Linked DNA regions of Homo sapiens: region 2 is linked to region 1. The links are contacts of gene promoters, found by promoter capture Hi-C in blood cells and fetal thymus (Javierre and others, 2016). All regions are on one chromosome and are shown on one strand. The core of a region is centred on a gene start or on the middle of the fragment in contact, and the rest is flanking DNA. Distances in the headings are between cores, read along the strand shown.

Region 1 (5,463 bases), core at 2,077-4,576:
AAAGGAATAATGTAGACTAAAGTATCAGGGAAAGCTGTTATTTATCATGTTCCATCTTAATTCCTGATAGCAATTTCTTGCTATTCTTCCTAGTTGATTTCAAAGTCTTTAAAAATTAACCCATATTTATAACCTATGTCCTAGATAAAGACTCGCTCATTCTGTAATCTTCAGGATTACAGAGGATCACTCACTGAGCCTGTTCTATCAATAAAACGTATGACATGGCGTAGATACAGTTTAAGTCTCTTCAAAAGGTTTCATGGGATGATGGTGAGAGAATTCCTTCCACCTCTCCATTTTCCTTTAAATGTATCACATATAGATTTTTACTGTGTTTTGGAATAATTAGCTTTCAATAACTGACTCCTGTTTAAAATTACCTAAAATCTGAATATGAACTGTGTCTTAAATGATAATGAAGAACTTTAATTTTTATTAATTGAGATGAGTTTTTTTTTTGAGACAGAGTCTCGCTCTGTCACCCAGGCTGGAGTACAGTGGGCAATCTCAAATCACTGCAACCTCCGCCTCCTGGGTTCAAGCAGTTCTCCTGCCTCAGCCTCCTGAGTAGCTGGGATTACAGACGCATGCCATCACGCCTGGCTAATTTTTGTATTTTTAGTACAGAAGGGGCTTCACCATGTTGGTCAGGCTGGTCTCGAACTCCCGCCTCGGCCTCCCAAAGTGCTGGGATTACAAGCATGAGCCACCGCGCCTGGCCGTCCTCATCGTTTTTAAAAAGCACATATTTTTAAGAAATTCATACTGAAGTATTTATGGGTGAAACGACATGATGCCTAGGATTTCCTTACAAATACTTAGGCCAAAAGAAGAGGAGACAAGACAGATGAAGGAAATGTAATAAAAAGTTGTTGTTTACTGCAACTGAAGGAGGGTATATGGATGTTCATTATATTATTATTTTGTGTATGCTTAAAATTTTTCATTAAAAAAATTTTAAATGTTGTCCAAATAATTAATATTTCTATTACACAGTCTAAACAATTTATTTGTTAAGACCATACTCTAAAGATCACTGAAAGACTATGGCTATTGCACAACAAAAATATTTTAATTTTCTTCTAAAAATTATAGTTCAAAGCCTTAAATATTTGTCAATACATGTGTCAAATGCAAAGAATAAAGATTCTGAAAACGCAACTCATTAAAACCATTACTCATCAGGCATTGCTGCTTGATTATTGTTACTGGTAAGATAATCAAGTGAGCAACCAGCACAATTCCTCTGGTCTTTTGTAATATCAGTATTAGAAGCCACCCAACAACGTAATTTACAAAAGTGAACAACACCTACACTCACAGAAAGTTATAACGAAGAAATACCTGAATAAATGAAAGAGTTCTCTAGATGAATTCACTAATGCTGTTTCAGTAACCCACTGAATGCCAAATATTTCCAAGGTATCTTCTTCAAAATTAGTTGGTAAAGGGTCAAGATTCAAAATCAATCTGAAATGAAAATTGTTTCAATCTCATAAAAAGTATACTAAGTACCATAATACGACGGCTCTTTTCTTTACATTATTTGAATCCATATTATACATGACATGTATAAAAAGTCAGAAAATGCCTTGGTACTTTACACATTCAAGATTACAATAGCTAGACTGTATTAAAACGTCAATCTTCTATATTGATAAAATGTACGACTAAAGTGTAATGTAACTTAAGAGGAAAAATCAACAAGAATTCTAAAAAACATATTTCTGCCTGTCTTCACCAGTAGTCTTCAGTTGTAGAATTTCATCCTTTGAGGGGACATTTAATTTTAAAACTGCTAACAGTTATTCTGAGCCATGTCTGGAGAATAGTATCCAACTAATGAAGTTGAGTATTCTATTTAAGATTTCTAACAAGGTACAACTATAAGGTCAACAAAAATAGTTTCCTCACTGAAACTGCCTCAGCAGGTATTACCAAAATATTTCAAGAACAGTTTTACTGTAATATATATGTACCTGCCCAAGGCAAAATAAGTCTATACACTTCTATATGTGCAGGTAGGATTAGAAGGAACAGGGGCAATAAAAAATGTTTGTCTCTCTTAAATATTACTGGAAAGCTCTAGAATATTATCACACTCTTTAGAAGGAAATACTACTGCAAAAGGCTCAGATAGTTAGGAATTCATTTTAAGTAGAAGAAAAATTAGTGCCCAGCTCCCTACAGTAAGGGAACATCAGTTACCAAGGAAGTTTTCCCTAATACCCCAAATACTTTAGATATGCCCTTACCAAGAAGCCAGCAGAACTGATAATCATTTGTACCCTTATGATATACTAAGCTGATTTATAAAACACGACTTGGTGAACACCAAAGTTTAATGGGCTGAAATAACTAACATTCCTAAAAAACTGGTGAATAATCAGATGAGGGAAAATGTCTCTGAGTTTTACCTACCGCTTAAGGGCTCCGCTGCAGAGGTAGGATTCTCCAGAAAAATGTTTTCCTCCTCCTCTGTTGTCAACAGCACAAGAAAAGTAAGGAGGTTTGCACCATTCCGTCCCCAGCTCCAGCTCTAAGCTGTCAGTCAGGAACGTCGATGCAGCAGAACAGTTCTCCATTGTTTACTTCATGTTCTGAAACACTTGGGGTTCGTCGTATCATTAAGGGCTCCAAAGAGAAGGTGTGAAGAGATTCCTGTTGGGGGGGGGGGGGTGGGGCCGAGAGAGTGGGGATTACTTCAGAAAGTTCTCAAGACGTCCGCCAGCAGGAAGGAAAAACAAACGAACAAACCCAGAGGCCAAATTCCCAATTCCCCCTCGCCCTCCGTCCATCAAGGCTGTCAGAACTTAAGACAAAATGCACAACCAACTGGCTGTGGCAGGGACCTCGAAATCCGGCCACTAAGTCGGGCTCTGCAGCCCAGGACAAGGTGAAAAGCAAAGAAATGTCTGCAGGACATAGCGTCCCGGGCTTGCCTAGAACTGCGCCCTCCGCAACGTTTCTAAACCACTCTCCGCCCGTTTCCCAGCAGCAGGGTGGAGAACGCTCCCTCCCCGGCTCGGGGTGGAAATTAGGAAAGCAACCCCTAGGGCCAACCCCGACCCTCCAAGGAGGAGGCGAGACCCACCAGGCCCACGCCTGGCAGCACTCGGGCGGAGAAGGCGGGGTGCCGGTATCCCGCGTACCCGGCTGCAGCAAGGACCCGGGGCGTCGGTTACCCGCGGTGCCTGTCGTACCCGCTCACATTTCCAGCTCCCGAAACCTGCCTCCTGTGACCCAGACCACCAACAGGAATCTTTGGGGTCTAAACCGCAAACAGGCGAAATTCCCGCCACCGCGCGCCCGCGCTCCGGAAAGGCGGGGCCACGGCGCAGCCCTCCCCCGGCTACCAATCGCCTCGCGATATCTGCGCGGAAACAGTCGGAGCCCCACGAATTCTCGCGAGAGTCCGTCAGTCCGGGACGAGGTACTGAGAAACTTTTTTTTTTGTACCTTTAATTGGTGCGTTCGGCTGAAAGGCGGGGCCTGGTAAAAAAAAAAAAACAGAACTGCTGCTGAGGCGGAGGAGAGGACTTAAGGACTATGGGTTTATCCTCTGGCCGGACCAAAGAGAAGATATTTACTCCAGTGAGTGCGAAGTGAGTGCCTCGTTCACACCCACAGTCGCGCCGTCCCCTCTTCCCGCTCTGGGGCCAGCAACTCTTGTTAGAATGCAGATGCCTTTTGTCCATGGACTGTGAGGCAGGCAAGTGCAACAATTAATTTTCTCTGTAACAGATGGAACAAGTAGACAGAAAATTAGTATGGATATGGAAAACTTGGAAAGCACTAACCAACTTGACCTAATTGACGTTTATAGGTGACCAACCCAACAATAGCAGAATACACACTCCTGTCAAGTGCACATGAAACATTCACTAAGCGATACCATATTCCGAGCCATAAAACAAATGTCATCAACTTTAAAAAGATTTAAATCGTACAAAGTGTATAGTCTGATCATAATGGCATTAAACTAGAAATAAAGTAGATACTTGAAATACTCTAAATATTTGGAAATTAAGAATCATACTTCTAACTAACCTGTGAATCAGGAAAAATCACAGGAAAATTAGAAAATACGTTGAATTAAATTAAAATGAAAACACTAAAATTTGTAACAGTACCTGCTTACATTAAAAAGAAGAACTCAATTCAATAAACTTTTGTCTTAAGTAACTAGAAAAAACCCCCAGCATATTGAAACCAAAGCAAGCAAAATGAATGAAATGATAAATAGTAGAAATAAATGGGATGAAATAAATGGAAGGAAATACATGCAAAAGTTGTTTTTCTAAAAGAGCAATATAATTGATAACCCCCCTACCCAAACTGATAAAGAAAATAAACAAATTATCAGTATCAGGAATTAAAAAGGTTTCATCACTATGAAATTTAGTCATTAAAAGGACAAGGATATTAAAAGAACATTATGAACATTTTTATGCCAATAAGCATAGGTGAAATGGACAAATTCCTTAAAAGACGCAAACTGTCAAAAATCAACAAAAGAAGAAAATTTGAGTATCTCTGTATTTATCGTAGTACTCAGAATCTTTGGTTAAGCCTCCCTCCTCTCTCTCTGCACACACACACACACACACACACACACACACACACACACACCACTTCTTACAAGAAAACTTCAGGCCAGGGCAGGCACAGTGGCTTTGGGAGGCTGAAGTAGGTGGATCCCTTGAGACCAGGAGTTCCAGACCAGCCTGGGCAACATGGTGAAACCCTGTCCCTTGTCTCCACAAAAAAAATACAAATATTAGCCAGGCGTGGTGGTGCTCATCTGTAGTCCCAACTACTTAGGGAGGCTGAGGTGAGAGGATCACTTGAGCTGGAGAGTTCGAGGCTGCAGTGAACTGTGAGTGTGCCATTGTACTCCAGCCTGGACAACAGAGCAACACCATTTCTCAAAAGCAACAAAACAAACAAACACTCTCCAGGCCAAATGGCCTTACTATTAAATTCTCCCAAACATTTAAGGAAGGAGTAATACCAATTCTATACTAACTCTTAGAGAAATTAGGAGATTGGATGCTTGTTTTATGAGGCTAGCACCACACTGGTATCGAAACCTGACAAAAGACAATTACAATACAATATCACATGCAAACATAAAAGCAGAAATGTTAGCAAGCAAAATCCAGCAGTACATAAAAAGGATGACATATGATGGCAAGGTGCAGTGGCTCACGCCTGTAATCCCAGCACTTTGGGAGACCAAGGCGGGTGGATCACTTGAGGTCAGGAGTTCAAGACCAGCCTGGCCAACATGGTGAAACCTCGTCTCTACTAAAAATACAAAAATTAGCCGGGTATGGCGCCATGTGCCTGTAGTCCCAGCTACACAGGAGGCTGAGGCAGGAGAATCGCTTGAACCCGGCATGGGGAGGTTGCAGTGAGCCGAGATCGCGCCACTGTACTCCAGAACAAGACTCCGCC
Region 2 (4,894 bases), core at 491-2,990, 780 kb before region 1:
GCAGATTCAGATAGTATTAGGAATCCCAAAAAAGGATATATACAAAGAAAGCTACACATAGCACATTATAGTGAAATCAATGAAAAACAAAGAAAAATTAGAAAATCATAAGATCATCTATAGGGAAGGAAAAGAGACTACCTTGATGGGAATCATAATCAGAATCATAATTGCCTTTTCAATAAAAACTACGAAGCCAGAAGACACTGAAATGTATTTTCAAAGTACCAAAAGAAAATAACTGCCAATCTAAAATTCTATAGTCAATGAAAATGTCTTTGAGGAACAAAGTCAAACTAGGATATTTGCAGACCACAACAATAGCATCTGTTGTCAGTAGACCCACTGACATTGCTGGTAGATTCCTCTAATGGAAATATTAAAGGAATGATTACCTCTAGATAGAAAGAAAGCCATAGTGATTGGAAGATGGCATGAGGGAGCTTCTTGGCAATGACAGAATTTTATTGACCTAGTTGCAGCATGTGTTTACTTTGTAATAGTTTGTTGAGATTCACCCTTGTGACTTGTGCACTTTGTGTGGATGAGTTAAACAAAACTATAAATGAACTGGATGTGATCTGAACAAAATATCCAGAGAGCAACAGGAGGAAATAAACAGATGGATAAAATGAAGGACAGATTTAAAGACACCATGGCTAGAAAGTCCAGTAACAGTTACAAAAGGGAAGAATTGAGAAAATGAAGGAGGCACAGTATTCAAAGAGATAATGGCTGGGAAAATAAAAGAAAAGCCAGAAAACTCTCTAAAGTGCTGAAAAAAATAGTCATCAATCTAGAATTCTATACCACGCCAATTTACCCATCCAAATAAGAGTGAAATAAAGACATTTGCACTCATTCATTCATTCACACAGTTTGTTGTTGTTCAACAATTCTTATTGAGCACTTACACTGTCTAGGCATAGGGACTACCATTAACAAAAGCAATTTAAGTCCCCATTCTCAGAATTCTAGAGGTCGGAGCCTGAAATGGAGCTCATGGGATTAAAACAAGGGTGTCAGCAGGGCTGATTTCTTCTTCTTTTTTTTTTTTTTTTTTTTTTTTTTTGAGATGGAGTCTCGCTCTGTTGCCCAGGCTGGAGTGCAGTGGCACGATCTCGGCTCACTGCAAGCTCCACCTCCCGGGTTCACGCCATTCTCCTGCCTCAGCCTCCCGAGTAGCTGGGATTACAGGCACCCGCCACCGTGCCCGGCTAATTTTTTCTATTTTTTTGGTAGAGACGGGGTTTCACCGTGTTAGCCAGGATGGCCTCGATCTCCTGACCTCGTGATCCGCCCGCCTCAGCCTCCCAAAGTGTTGGGATTACAGGCATGAGCCACCACGCCCAGCCAGGGCTGATTTCTTTTGGAGTCTCCAGGAGGAGTCTGTTCCTTGATCCTTCCAGCTTTTAGACTTAGTATTCATTGAACTGTGGCCACATCACTACATGCTCTGCTTGCTTCAGTCATCGATTGCTTTCTCTCCAACTCTGACTTCTCCTGCATCCCTTTTATAAGGATCACTGTGATTACATTGAGACCACTCAGATAATTGAGAATAATCTCCCCATCTCAACACATTTAACTTAATCACACCTGCAAATTTTATTTTGTCATATAAGGTAACATTCACAGGTTCTGAGTATTAGGATATGGACATCCTTGGGGGACAATTATTCAACCTGCCACAATATGTACGCATTTCTGTTGGATTTTACCTAGGGGTATAAGCTGTTTATTATGTTCAGCATTAGTTGATGATACCAAATAATGTTTCCAAATTGTTGTATTTACTTATATTTCCACCAGCAGTGTTTCACATACTCATCAATACTTGTTACTGTCAGTCTTTTTAATTTTAGCCATTCTGGTAGATTTGATGCTGGACAAATATAGACTATAATAGTTTTACTACTAATAGCCTTTTGCAGAAAAAACTACTAACAAGTCCACCTTAGTTTTTTACAATGAAAAAATAAAACCAAGAAAGAAAGAAATAGTAGATGAAAAATAAAACATAGAGGAAAATAGATGTTAAACTTTGGATAAATTTACAATGAATTTGGGGAGTAAAAAATAATAGAATAAAGTTTAAAAATTATTTAAGTGGAAAGGGTAAAGTTTTCTAAGATCCTTACATTGTTTAAGAGGAGAGTAGATAAAGCCTAATGAAAAAATAAGAGGAAGAAACTAACTTTGCCAGGACTGAAGAAGAAGGAAAGGGTATTTCAGAAAGGTAAAACATTCTTTGCAAATATTCCGTGCCCTGAAAGAATCTGGCATATTTCCAGAAGGGCAACAATGTGGCATGTGGCTGAATGCCAGCCTTCATGAAGGGTGCTGAGGAGATTAGGCTGCAATCGGGACACTAATTTGGGGATAGATTGGGTTGGGCTATTTCAGGAGATTTTTAGGAGTCTATACTTCATTTATTTGACCACTAGTCATTAACATTTTAGAACACACAAAACATTTTAAATGATTTTAAAAGCACAAATGGCATCACTTGAATTACATTCAATATAATTATGGTTTTAATATAAATATAAAATGTAAACTGGAATCCTCAAAACAGTTAAATAGCAATTGTAATAATCCATGTATAAAGTGGCAATTTAATATTTCACCTCAAGGCACTGTGCTATATATATCTGTCGGTATAAAAATTAATGACATTGGCTGGGCACGATGGCTCATACCTGTAATCCCAGCACTTTGGGAGGCCAAGGCGGGCAGCTCACCTGAGGTCAGGAGTTCGAGACCAGCCTGATCAACATGGAGAAACCCTGTCTCTACTAAAAATACAAAATTAGCCAGGCGTGGTGGCACATGCCTGTAATCCCAGCTACTCAGGAGGCCAAGGCAGGAGAATCGCTTGAATCTGGGAGGTGGAGGTTGCAGTGAGCTGAGATCTCGCCATTGCACCCCAGCCTGGGCAACAACAGAGAACTCCATCTAAAAACAAAACAAAAACAAACAAACAAAACTAATACATTGTACCTAAACACAAGTAACACGTAAGTCAAGTTGCTGGTGGTTGCAAAGAGAAGGAAAAGGAAGTGAAGGATGTCAGATATTAGAGGCAAAGAACCTTTGGGATTCAGGAAGTACTAGGAGATTCCCCTGGTGGTTGGTTCTCCTGCATACCTAGCTCCTCCCCAACACACACACACACACACACACACACACACACACACACACACACACACGATGTCAGTTTCCATTATTTGGCTCGTATGTTATTGAACAAATATCTTCAGGAAAAAAAAGAAGTGTGGATTTAGAACATGATTTCATGCTGCCTGTTGAGAGTATTTCTCTCTCTGTCTGTCTCTCTCTCTTTAAAGAAAAGATCTCACTCTGTCACCCAGGCTGGAGTGCAATGGGCTGATCATGGCTCACTGTAGCCTTGAACCCTTGGGCTCAAGCAATCCTCCCACCTTAGCCTCCTGTAGCTACGACTACAGGCACGTGCTACCATATCCATATCCAGCTAGGTTTTTTTGTTTTTTGTTTTGTTTTGTTTTGTTTTTTGTAGAGTTGGGGGTCTCACACTTTTGCCCAGGCTTGTCTTGAACTCCTGGCCTTAAGCAATCTTCACTCCTTGCTCTCTCAAAGTGCTAGGATTACAGGTCTGAGCCAATGTACCTGGCCTTCCTTTTTCTTTAAGATGTTAAGGTATCAAATTTCTGAAACCAATCCCATAAATAATTAGTAATAATCTAAGACTTCTAAAGATGTTTTTATTGCATGTTGTTTTTTCTACCAAATTATCCAAAGAAAGCTGTCATAGACAGAAGTTAAATGTATCAACCCCCTATACCCTTATTATGACTTTTCCTGGTACAGTTATAGACTTGAATCTCAATTCTGCCTCTGGTATTGGAATCACGGGCTCAGATAGAACCACTGAATCTTTTTCCCGCCATATTCCTATCTATTGTTGCATGTATGATTTGTTTGAAAAATGACTGTCTCATATTGCAAAAGAGCACAGATGTGCCTCCTCTTTCTCAGTTATAATGATGAAAATCCCCAGTAAGCAATTATTTTGTGAATGAATTTTATAGAATGCCAATTCATGCTGCAAAACTAATTCGTCCTTCTGTTAACAACAAGCATCACCCAAATGTCCCCCCACCTGCCAGAATAAGTACTATGACAAATACAAGATTTTAAAAAAGCAACATGCTTACCAAGTTCTGAAGAAGTATTCAATCATAGCAGTATTACAGATTTTCATGAGGAAAATCCATTAGGCTTTAATATGTTGCAGTATATAACAATCTAGAACATTATACTTTTACAGTATTTCAAAGAAGCAATCTTGTTATACAGTTGTTTCCATTTTAGAAAAAGCAATTGGAAATTTCTAACTTAACTTATGAAACATTATGCGTACCTTAAGGAGTTCATTATGTCATTATTGGCCCTTTGTTTCCTGATTCATTATTTATAACTAAATGCTGAAAGATATAAAAGAAGAAGCTTTACAGTTGGTTGGTATAAATGGTCAAAAGTTTTTTTAAAAACTCAATGTTTTCTATTATATTTAGGATTTGGTCTAAACTCTGAGTTTTCTAACAAATAAAAAATCAGAAAAGTTCTTGATGCATTATTACATACAAAATGAATAGTCTGTAATTACTTTACCTACAATATCACCACCATCACCTCCACCAAGATAATCAGTGTATGAACATCCTTACTTTTCTACCCCATGTCTGAAAGGAAGAAATTTATTTTCTGATATCCAAGCTCAATCCATCTATATTAGTTCTCTGTGGCTGCTGTAACAAATGACCACACACTTGGTGGCTTAAAACAACAGAAATTTCTTCTTTCCTTGCCTCTTTCAGCTTCTGGGGGTGCCCAGTGTTCTCTGGCTTGA

The links. The method cuts DNA at HindIII sites, captures the fragments that hold promoters and counts their contacts. A CHiCAGO score of 5 or more calls a contact.
Region 2: a fragment that was not itself captured here is called in contact with the fragment with the promoter of MMS22L in region 1 in 4 of 17 cell types (non-activated CD4 T cells, naive CD8 T cells, naive B cells and 1 more); the score reaches 6.5 in non-activated CD4 T cells.

The regions. Positions count from the first base shown.
Region 1 is chr6:97,279,890-97,285,352 of GRCh38, forward strand. MMS22L (MMS22 like, DNA repair protein) reads right to left here and starts at 3,327. Exons shown (of 25, transcript NM_001350599.2): 1 at 3,207-3,327; 2 at 2,425-2,664; 3 at 1,348-1,473. The coding sequence starts at 2,588. RefSeq lists enhancers at 2,904-3,163, 3,544-3,603. The HindIII fragment of the contact is 13,882 bases long and covers 1-5,463 here.
Region 2 is chr6:96,503,254-96,508,147 of GRCh38, forward strand. All of the region lies in intron 1 of UFL1-AS1 (UFL1 antisense RNA 1), which reads right to left. Among named protein-coding and RNA genes, the nearest start is that of UFL1-AS1, 16 kb to the right of the region's middle. The HindIII fragment of the contact is 5,498 bases long and covers 1-4,489 here.